2 separate regions of the Homo sapiens genome follow, and region 1 is linked to region 2. The links are contacts of gene promoters, found by promoter capture Hi-C in blood cells and fetal thymus (Javierre and others, 2016). All regions are on one chromosome and are shown on one strand. The core of a region is centred on a gene start or on the middle of the fragment in contact, and the rest is flanking DNA. Distances in the headings are between cores, read along the strand shown. Region 1 overlaps UBR4 (ubiquitin protein ligase E3 component n-recognin 4). Region 2 holds the start of CAPZB (capping actin protein of muscle Z-line subunit beta).

Region 1 (4,568 bases), core at 703-3,202, 290 kb after region 2:
GATTTTCAGATTGGCTTCTTTCTCTTAGCAGTATGCATATAGTTCCTCCATGTCTTCTCATGGCTTAATAGTCCATTTCTTTTTATTGCTGAATTAATATTCCATTGTATGGATATACCACAGTTTGTTTCTGTGTTCTCCTATTGAAGGACATTCGTGTGTAGTGTGTGTGTGTGTGCGCGCGTGTAAGTTTTCAGCTTATTTGGATAAATACCTAGGAGTCTGGTTACTGAATTGTATGGTAAACCTATTTAGTCTTGCTCTTAATGGCATTTATTTTAAGTAGTCAAATCATGGAATTGCTTGTGGGTGGGGTGTGCTTTTGTGTTTCAGCTTTGGTGGATTCTTGGATGCACTCCATGGCTGAGACCTGTGCATCTTCTTTTTCAGGTGTGAGTGTGGCAACGTGCATGGCCATCCTCCATGTGGGTAGTGCCCAGCAAGTGCGGACAGGGTCCACGAGCTCCAAAGAAGATGACTATGAAAGTGACGCAGCTACAATTGTCCAGAAATGTGTAAGCCAAAGATCTGGGGATAAGGGAACCTTGATTGTTCAAATGAGGGAGTATGGCCAGTTCCACTTTCTTCCATGATAGAAGAAAGAACTTAGAGTATTCTCCACACTACTTTCCCTGGGCACTAGTAGGTCTAAGAGGTAGGCATCCAGCTTGTTGATTTGGTATATTGGTTGATCTGGTATATTGTTTCCCTATCTCTGTAGAACACACTTGAAAGATTAGCCATTAATTCAGCAAATATGTTTGAGGGCCTACTGTGTGTCAGTGTACTTTTAGGGAAATGCAGTAAACAGGAAAATTTCCGATAGTGATTAAGTGCGCTGAAACAATACATTGTGATTGATAGTGATCTGGGCCGGGTGTGGTGACTCACACCTGTGATCCCAGTACTTTGGGAGGTGGGTGGATCACCTGAGGTTAGGAGTTCAAAACCAGCCTGGCCAGCATGGTGAAACCCTGTCTCTACTAAAAATACAAAAATTAGCTGGGTGTGGTGGTGCATGCCTGTAATCCCCGCTACTCTGGAGGCTGAGGCAGGAGAATCGCTTGAGCCTGGGAGGTGGAGGTTTCAGTGAGCCGGGATCACGCCATCGTACTCCAGCCTGGACAACAAGAGTGAAACTCCGTCTTAAAAAAAAAAAAGTGATCTGATGTGGAGCTGGGCATGCTGCTTTTGATTCGGAGGAGGGATGGCTTCTGAGAAGGTGACATTTGATCCAAATGAAAAGAGGGAGTCAGCTCCATGTGAAGGTCAAGGAAAGTACGATGGAATGTATCATTGAAAAGAGGATATTGAACTCTTCAAGTTAAATTGTTTGGGTAGGATTTAGCATTTATGATGAAATCTGTCAGCTTGTTCAGATTTTTGTGTCTGTTTGATATTGTACAGCTCGAAATCTATGACATGATTGGACAAGCAATCAGCAGTTCTCGCCGGGCTGGTGGTGAGGTAAGAAGCGTATCTGTCTCTGCTGCATACTTCCTATCTTGTCCTCTCTGAGATGTAAATATCTCTATGATTATGTTTTTTATTTTGTGCCTTTCACAACAGCACTATCAGAATTTCCAATTGCTGGGTGCTTGGTGCTTGTTAAACAGCCTTTTCCTCATACTGAACCTCAGTCCTACTGCGTTGGCTGATAAGGGGAAAGAGAAGGACCCACTGGCTGCCCTCCGAGTCAGAGACATCCTTTCTCGTACTAAAGAGGGAGTGGGCTCCCCTAAACTGGGGCCTGGAAAAGGGTATGTGTCTACTTGATTATAACTTATATTTTGTTTTATTTCGCTAACATTTTATATTTACAGGGAGCTAGTATGACTTCATATCAATAGGAAAATTTGCCTTCCTACCTGGCTTGAATTTAGCAACTAAGATAATGATCATGACCTGTTATCTCCACAGCATAGCTTTGTGATTTTTAGATAAGTCACTCATTCTCTTTGATTCTATTTCCTCATCTGTCAAAGGGGAAAAATATCTGTGCAATGTGTATTTCAGGAATTTTATGAAGTTCACATCAGAAAAACATGTTTCTGTCTTGTAAAGCGGGCTTGTTTGACTTGGAGTTGAGTACTTGCGTGTATAACCTGTAAGATGAGAATATTGTCAGGGCCTCCTGGTTTGCTTCCTGTAATATTTGCTGTTGTTTTGATGAACTCTGAAAGAAGAGATATGACCAATGTACTGTTCAGGTTTCGTTTTCTAAGCCCAGGTGTTTCTGGATTTTATTTTTTCATTCAATCCCTATTATATACTAGGCCCTATTCTAGGCATTGAGGATATAGCACTAAACAAAGTGATGTCCTTGCCTTTATGGAGTTTATTTTATATCTGGAGAAACAATGAACAAATCTATTAACGAGTAGATTATAGATAATCATATATAAACGTTGTGAAGAAAAAGATGTCAGAGCGAGGGGCCGGAGAGTCATAGGGGCTTTTATTATTTTATTTTTTTTGAGACATAGTCTCCCTCTGTTGCCCATGCTGGAGTGCAGTGGCGTGATTGTGGCTCACTGTAACCTCCACTTCGCGGGTTCAAGCAATTCTCATGCCTCAGCCTCCCAAGTAGCTGGGATTACAGGTGAATGCCACCACACCCAGCTAATTTTTGTATTTTTAGTAGAGACGGGGTTTCACCATGTTGGCCAGGCAGGGTCTCGAACTCTTGGCCTCAAATGATCTGCCCACCTCAGCCTCCTAGAGTGCTGGGATTACAGGTGTGAGCCACTGCGCCCAGCCCAGGGCTATTATTTTAGTTATTTAGTTATTTAGGATGATCCAGAAAGGGCTCCAAAGACATGATGTAGAGACCATATGTGAAGTGACAGAGCTATGTAAGTATTTGGGGTAGAATTGTTCAGGTTTGAGATGGAAGTATCATTGACATTTCTGAGGGTCAGCAAGGTCAGTGTGGCTAAAATGGAGAAACCAAGGTGGGAGAGTGGTAGAAAATTAGGTCAGACAGGTAGCCAGTGGCCAGATCACCTAGGGCCAAGTGCAGTCAGTAACTGTTAGAAGGATTAAACAAGGGAGAGATGCAACCTGATTTATTGGTGATCTGAGGATAGACTGCAGGGCATAAGATAAGAAGGAGGGAGAACAGTTAGCAGCGAATGCATCATTCCAGATGAGATATGAAGGTGACTTGGATAGGGTGGTGCGGCAAAGGCTGAGAAAAGAGGCCGAATTGAAATATATTTGGAAGGTACAGCTGGCAGGATTTACTGATGGCTTGTATGTTGGGTGTGAAAAAGATGACATCACAATTTTTTGGCTTGAGGTCACTGGGTTGTATAATTTACTGATACTGGGAACACTTGTTTAGGAGTGGGTTGAATGGGAAGATGGGGAAGAAATAAAAACGTAATATTGGCCATGCTGAGTGTAAGATGACTGTCAGACCTCTATGTGAGATGTTGAGTGGGCAGTTGGATATGTGAGTCTGGAGTTTCAGGAAGAGGTCACAGCCTGGACTGCATTAACAAATTACCCTCTGAGCATCTTCTGTGTCCCAGGCTCTGTGTTAGTTCTGGATTGCTGTGATGAACATAAAAATGGACATATTCTCAAGAGACATGAACTAGGTATCCATACAAATATATATATATATATATTTTTTTTTTTTTTTTTTTTTGAGGCAGAGTCTCGCTCTGTTGCCCAGGCTGGAGTGTAGTGGTGCAGTCTCAACTCACTGCAACCTCTGCCTCCCAGGTTCAAGCAATTCTTGTGCCTCAGCCACCAGGTAGCTAGGATTACAGGTGTGTACCACCATGCCCAGCTGATTTTTTTTTTTTGTATTTTTAATAGAGTTGGGGTTTCGCCATGTTGGCTAGGCTGGTATTGAACTCCTGGCCTCAAGTGATCTGCCTGCCTCAGCATCCCAAAGTGCTGGGATTACAGGCATGAGCCAATCTGCCTGGCCATGTCAAATTGTATCTAGAGAGTATTAGAACAGGGGCATTTGACCTGGCTAGGGACATCAGAGCAGGCTTCCCCAAGGAATTGCTAATTAAGCTGAAATCTGAAGCCGGTATTGACATGGTAAGTTGATAGATACTAGGCGAAGTAAGGAGGTAAGAGTGTTCCAGAGCAAACGGTAGTTTGTGATTTTATGAGTGGCCATTTTCATTCTTGGCATTGTAAAGGGAAATGAAAGAATGCCAAGAAGTATATCCTTAGAAGTAGCAGTTATGCTTTTAAAATGGCTGTTGTTTCTTCATATTTTAAAAGAATACATGTATGTTGTATAAGTGACAAGCCATACAGATGGACATAAATAGGAAAGGTAAAAATGATCCCAAATTCTACCACTCAAATTGGTAAACATTCCTTCAGACATTTTTCTGTGCACATATAAAATATATATAAGTTTACAAAAATGGGATCAGTGTATATGAAATACTGCATCATCTTTTCAGTGACACTATTAAAATGTCTAAGTTTTTAATGGCCAGCAGTATTCCACTATGTAAATATACCGTAGTTGCCTAATTCCCCTATTGCTAAGCGCTTATTTAGATTGTTCCAAATGTCTTGTTTTGATAACT
Region 2 (4,548 bases), core at 1,520-4,019:
ACTCCAGTCTGGGCAACAGAACTGAGACACTGTCTCAAAACAAAAAACAACAGAAGACAAAGTCTTTAAATATGAAAAAAAAAATCTTAGCATCATCCTTGATTCCTTTCTTCTCATGCCTACCACCAATACATCAGGAAATACCTAGAATACTATCTACTTCTTGCCATCTCCAATGCTACTACCCTGGTCTAAGCCAGCTTCATCTCTCTGCTGTGTGACCTTGGGCAAGCTCCTTACCTTTTCAGGCTTCTGTCATGAGGATTAAATGGCTTATTATCTGTAAGGTGCTTAACAGTGTTCATCACATAGGATGTGCCATATCAGTGCTTTTTAAATAAATAAATGTCCTCAATATAGAAATGGCTTTCTAAGGCCCTAGTCCCCCTACAGTCCATTCAGAACACAGCAGCCTCATGATCCTTTTAAAGCCTAGGTCAAATCTTGTCATTGCCCTGTCCTTCAGCTCCTGCTCGACCTAGGCTAGCCACACTGGCCTCCTGTCTGGCCCTTGAAAACACACCAGTGCTGATGCAGCACTGTCACCTTCAGGGTTTTTACCCTTGCTGCTCCTTGTGCCTCTGCTATCCACACGGCTTGCTCCCTCCTTCCCTTCAGCTATATGATCAAATATTGCTAAGTTAGGCCTTGCCTGCCTACCTGTTTGCTTGAATTTTTCTCATTATCTCTAATCACTACCCGACACTGTATTATTATTATTACTATTTTATTTTTGAGACGAAGTCTCTCTCTGTCGCCCAGGCTGGAGTGCAGTGGCGCGATCTCGGCTCACTGCAAGCTCCGCCTCCCGGGTTCACGCCATTCTCCTGCCTCAGCCTCCCGAGTAGCTGGGACTACAGGCGCCCGTCATCCCGCCCAGCTAATTTTTTTATTTTTAGTAGAGACGGAGTTTCACCGTGTTAGCCAAGATGGTCTCGATCTCCTGACCCCGTGATCCGCCCACCTCGGCCTCCCAAAGTGCTAGGATTACAGGCGTGAGCCACTGCGCCCGGCCTCGGCTAACTTTGTGTATTTTTAGTAGACGGGGTTTCGCCATGTTAGCCAGGCTGATCTGGAACTCCTGACTTCAAGCGATTGCCCACCTCGGCCTCCCAAAGTGCTGAGATTACAGGCGTGAGCCACTGTGCCTGGCCTTGGACACTGTATTTGCCTGGTGGCCGACTGTCTCCCTGACAACACTCAAGCTCCACAACCATGTGGGTTATTTTGCTCATTGCTCTATTTCCAGAGCCTAGCACAGTGCTTGGCACATAGCAGATGCTCAATAAGTATCTACTGCGTGTGCCATTCTCTTCCTTGAATTTCTGTAATACTCATCCAATACCATTCTTGCGAGACTTACCCGTATGCTTTTTCTGCCAGTGGCTACCTGTGAAAGCTTCGACTTGTCTATGAGCTCCCTGAGGACAGGGCCTGGCTCAGGGAAACAATTCCTGTCATCTGTGCAGTTTACCATCCCCTCACAGATCGCCTAATTTGATTTAACCAAAGCAAACAGGCCACGGAGGCAGATATTGTTAGCAATCCAGATCTCTCCTGCTACCTAGACTAAGCTTAACAAATATTTGATTGAGAGAGAGAGAGAGAGATTGGGAGAGAGAAACTTGAGTCACTTTGTGGAGCGAGGAAGCCCTTCTGGGCTAATGGAATGGTTCTCTGTAGCACATTCAACAGTACTCATAACAGCTAGCATTTGTTGAACTTAATTTTTTTTCTTTTGAGACAGAGTCTTGCTCTGTCGCCAGGCTGGGGTGCAGTGGCGCGATCTTGGCTCACTGCAACCTCTGCCCCCGGGTTCAAACGATTCTCCTGCCTCAGCCTCCCGAGTAGCTGGGACTATAGGAGCGAACCACCACGCCCAGCTAATTTTTGTATTTTTAGTAGAAACGGGGTTTCACCATGTTGGCCAGGATGGTCTCGATCTCTTGACCTTGGCCCGCCTCGGCCTTCCAAAGTGCTGGGATTACAGGCGTGAGCCACCGCGGCCGACCTGTTGAACTTAATTTTCTAATCTCTACCTGTGTCATCCTCACAGATATTCTGTCTGCAGCTATACCGGCAGGGATCTTTATGTCTTATCTGTTATCTTCCGGTGCCTAAACAAGGCCTGGCACATAGTAGGTGCTGAATAAATGGCGTCAGCCCGAGGCTCCTCAATTCGTGCCCGGGCTCAGGTGCAGCGCGGCGCTCCAGATCCTGCCGTAGCGAGCGGCAGCGCTGGGCTCCTGCCCCGCTCCCGGCGCGCTCCCCCAGTGCTGGGTTGGGCTGGGTTGGGCTGGGCCGGGCCGGTCCGCGCTCGGCGGCAGTTCCGGGTGCGCCGCAGGAGTGAGCGCGTGCACGGGGTGGGGCGCGGAGGGCCGGTCCCCTCCCAGCCGCGGTGCCTTCCGCATCCCCGCCCGCGGGGACTGTGGGGTGCGGTTCCCTCGCCGCCACTCGCTGCTGCAGGCCCAGAGTCGGGGACTGGACCTCAGACAGCCAGGAGACCTTTCCGCCCCGGCCCGCAACCCGTGCCGGGGACTCCCGGCAGCCGCGCCGCGCAGCGCCGCGCCCCGCCCCGCCTCGCAGGCCCCGCCCCCGCACCCCGTCGGCGCCCGCCTCTCGCGCCGCTCTCCATACTTGGCGATCGCCGCAGCCCCGCGCGCTCATTGGCCGCGAGCTGGCGGCGTGGGGGGCGGGCCCGGGCCGGGCCGGGGCGGGGAAGGAAGGTGGCGGCGGCCCGGCGCGGGGGGAGGGGGGTGCTGACCCGGATGTTCACTCCTGGGCACCCGGGGAAGTGGAAGCGCCGGGCCCTGCTGCGGGGGGGAGAGCCACTGACGCCGGGACCGGGACCGCCGCCGCCGCCGCCACCATGGTAAAGGCCGCACGGCCCCCTCCCCGGCCCGGGGGCCCCTCCGGAGCTCGCGTCCCCCTCCCCCTGCCCATCCCTGGCCTGGGACGGGTGGCTTCCCGGGGTGGGGGAGGGGCGGGGTCCCGGACCCTGGGTGGACCCGGTCCCTCCCCGCCCAGGAGGGTGCCGCCGGCGCGGACGACTTGGGTGGCAGTGACCCTGCCCCCGCTCCCAGCCCCCGCCCTTGGCGCAAGCTGGAGTCCCACTCACTACCTCTGTGTTCAGGCTGGTCTCTCCCATAGCCCAGGCTAGACCCTCCCTCCCGAACCGTGTCCCCAGCCAGGCACCCCCTCGGTGACCCTGGCGTGGGCCCCCTTCCTCCCCCGGTCTAGGGCTAGGTCTGCTTTCCCCCGTCTCTCCGGCCCAGGCTAGGCCGTCGTTTCTCCCTGCCATGGCCCAGGCTAGGCCGCTGCCTCCCTCTGTCCCTCCCCCTTTGCCTTCTCCATGGCCTCAGGCTGGACCCCGGTCAGCCCCTTCTGCAGCGGCCTAGGTTTGCTTCCCCTCTTCTCCGTGGCCTCAGCCTGAATCTCCTCTTCTCTCTGTGAACTTAAATCTGGACCTCCTCTTCTCCGCCCATGGCCCCCGTCTGGACCTCACTGCCCCCTCCCCACCATGATCCCCTTCCCTGGACTTTTCGCCACTCCTAGCGTAACCTGCGTCAGCCCCGCTCGGTCCCCGCCCTGAGCCTCTCATCAGGGTCCTGCCCCCTGCCTGGTGCACGACCCAGGGTCCCCTTCCCTGTACCTGGGGCGCGCCTTCTTTGCAGCCTTTGGGGAGCGAGGGGAGCTCTCCATCAGGGATGGGGTGGTCCCGGTGCTGTGCCTTCTCAGTTGCCGCTTCTAGGGAGGCCGCCTAGGAGCCAGCGAGGGAAGGGCGGGCATCGGTGTGCCCAGAAGGCAGCGCGCTGCTCTGCGGGCCCTTCTCGAGGCTGCCGCCGTGGGTGCTGTGCGTGCGAAGCATTCTGCAGGGCAGGCCGGGGTCCACGGCGCCCGGGCCTGAGTGGGAGCCGAGGGGCGAGGATGGGTGGCCCACAGGACAAGGATGAACGCACAATCGCCCTTGTGAGGCCGTGGCCTTGGGGGGCCACCAGGCCCTGGATCCAGCATATGGCCTGGACACGATGCACCCAAGCAGGCGCAGCCTCCCCTTCCCTCTGAACTGTCAGCTTGCAAGGGTTGGAACTGCTGATTATGGAAGTCCCTCGGATCAGGTGAGCAGAACGCCTAGGGAGAGTGCTGGCTCCGCTCGTGGTGTTTGTTTTGGTAAAGAAGGCAGATGCTATCCAGACTTTTGAGGAACCTGGGGTTTCACATAGGCCCCCACAGATAGACCTGCCCTCCTGCCACTTGACCCTTCTGCAGGACAGGCCCAGCACTTAGGTTGGAAGGGCCAGAGAACTTCTTCCTGACAGGATCAAGGGATTTTTGGAGCATGTTTGTATGTGGACTTTGGGCCTCAAAGTGTTTTGAGGACCATGGTTCCTTGTTTAGTCAAGGGATGTTGCTGCTGAACGAGGGTGAGTAGTTGAGATGGGTTAAGCTTTCTTTTGATGCCTTCCTGTATGCTGATTAAAAACATGGGCAATGCCACTTTTAAGGCCTTCGGATTTGTCCAGTAACTTTGGCTGAAAACTCCTTGTT

The links. Contacts are between HindIII fragments. The CHiCAGO score rates a contact against its expected background, and 5 or more counts as called.
Region 1: a fragment that was not itself captured here is called in contact with the fragment with the promoter of CAPZB in region 2 in 1 of 17 cell types (total CD4 T cells); the score reaches 5.2 in total CD4 T cells.

The regions. Positions count from the first base shown.
Region 1 is chr1:19,189,380-19,193,947 of GRCh38, reverse strand. UBR4 (ubiquitin protein ligase E3 component n-recognin 4) reads left to right here. Exons shown (of 106, transcript NM_020765.3): 9 at 391-515; 10 at 1,408-1,467; 11 at 1,570-1,760. Among named protein-coding and RNA genes, the nearest start is that of UBR4, 19 kb to the left of the region's middle. The HindIII fragment of the contact is 9,242 bases long and covers 1-4,568 here.
Region 2 is chr1:19,483,760-19,488,307 of GRCh38, reverse strand. CAPZB (capping actin protein of muscle Z-line subunit beta) reads left to right here and starts at 2,769. Exons shown (of 9, transcript NM_004930.5): 1 at 2,769-2,872. The coding sequence starts at 2,870. It also overlaps a transcript of LOC105376819 not described here. RefSeq lists enhancers at 426-933, 2,967-3,475, 3,476-3,983, 3,984-4,492 and silencers at 2,193-2,922, 2,953-3,062. The HindIII fragment of the contact is 2,873 bases long and covers 1,577-4,449 here.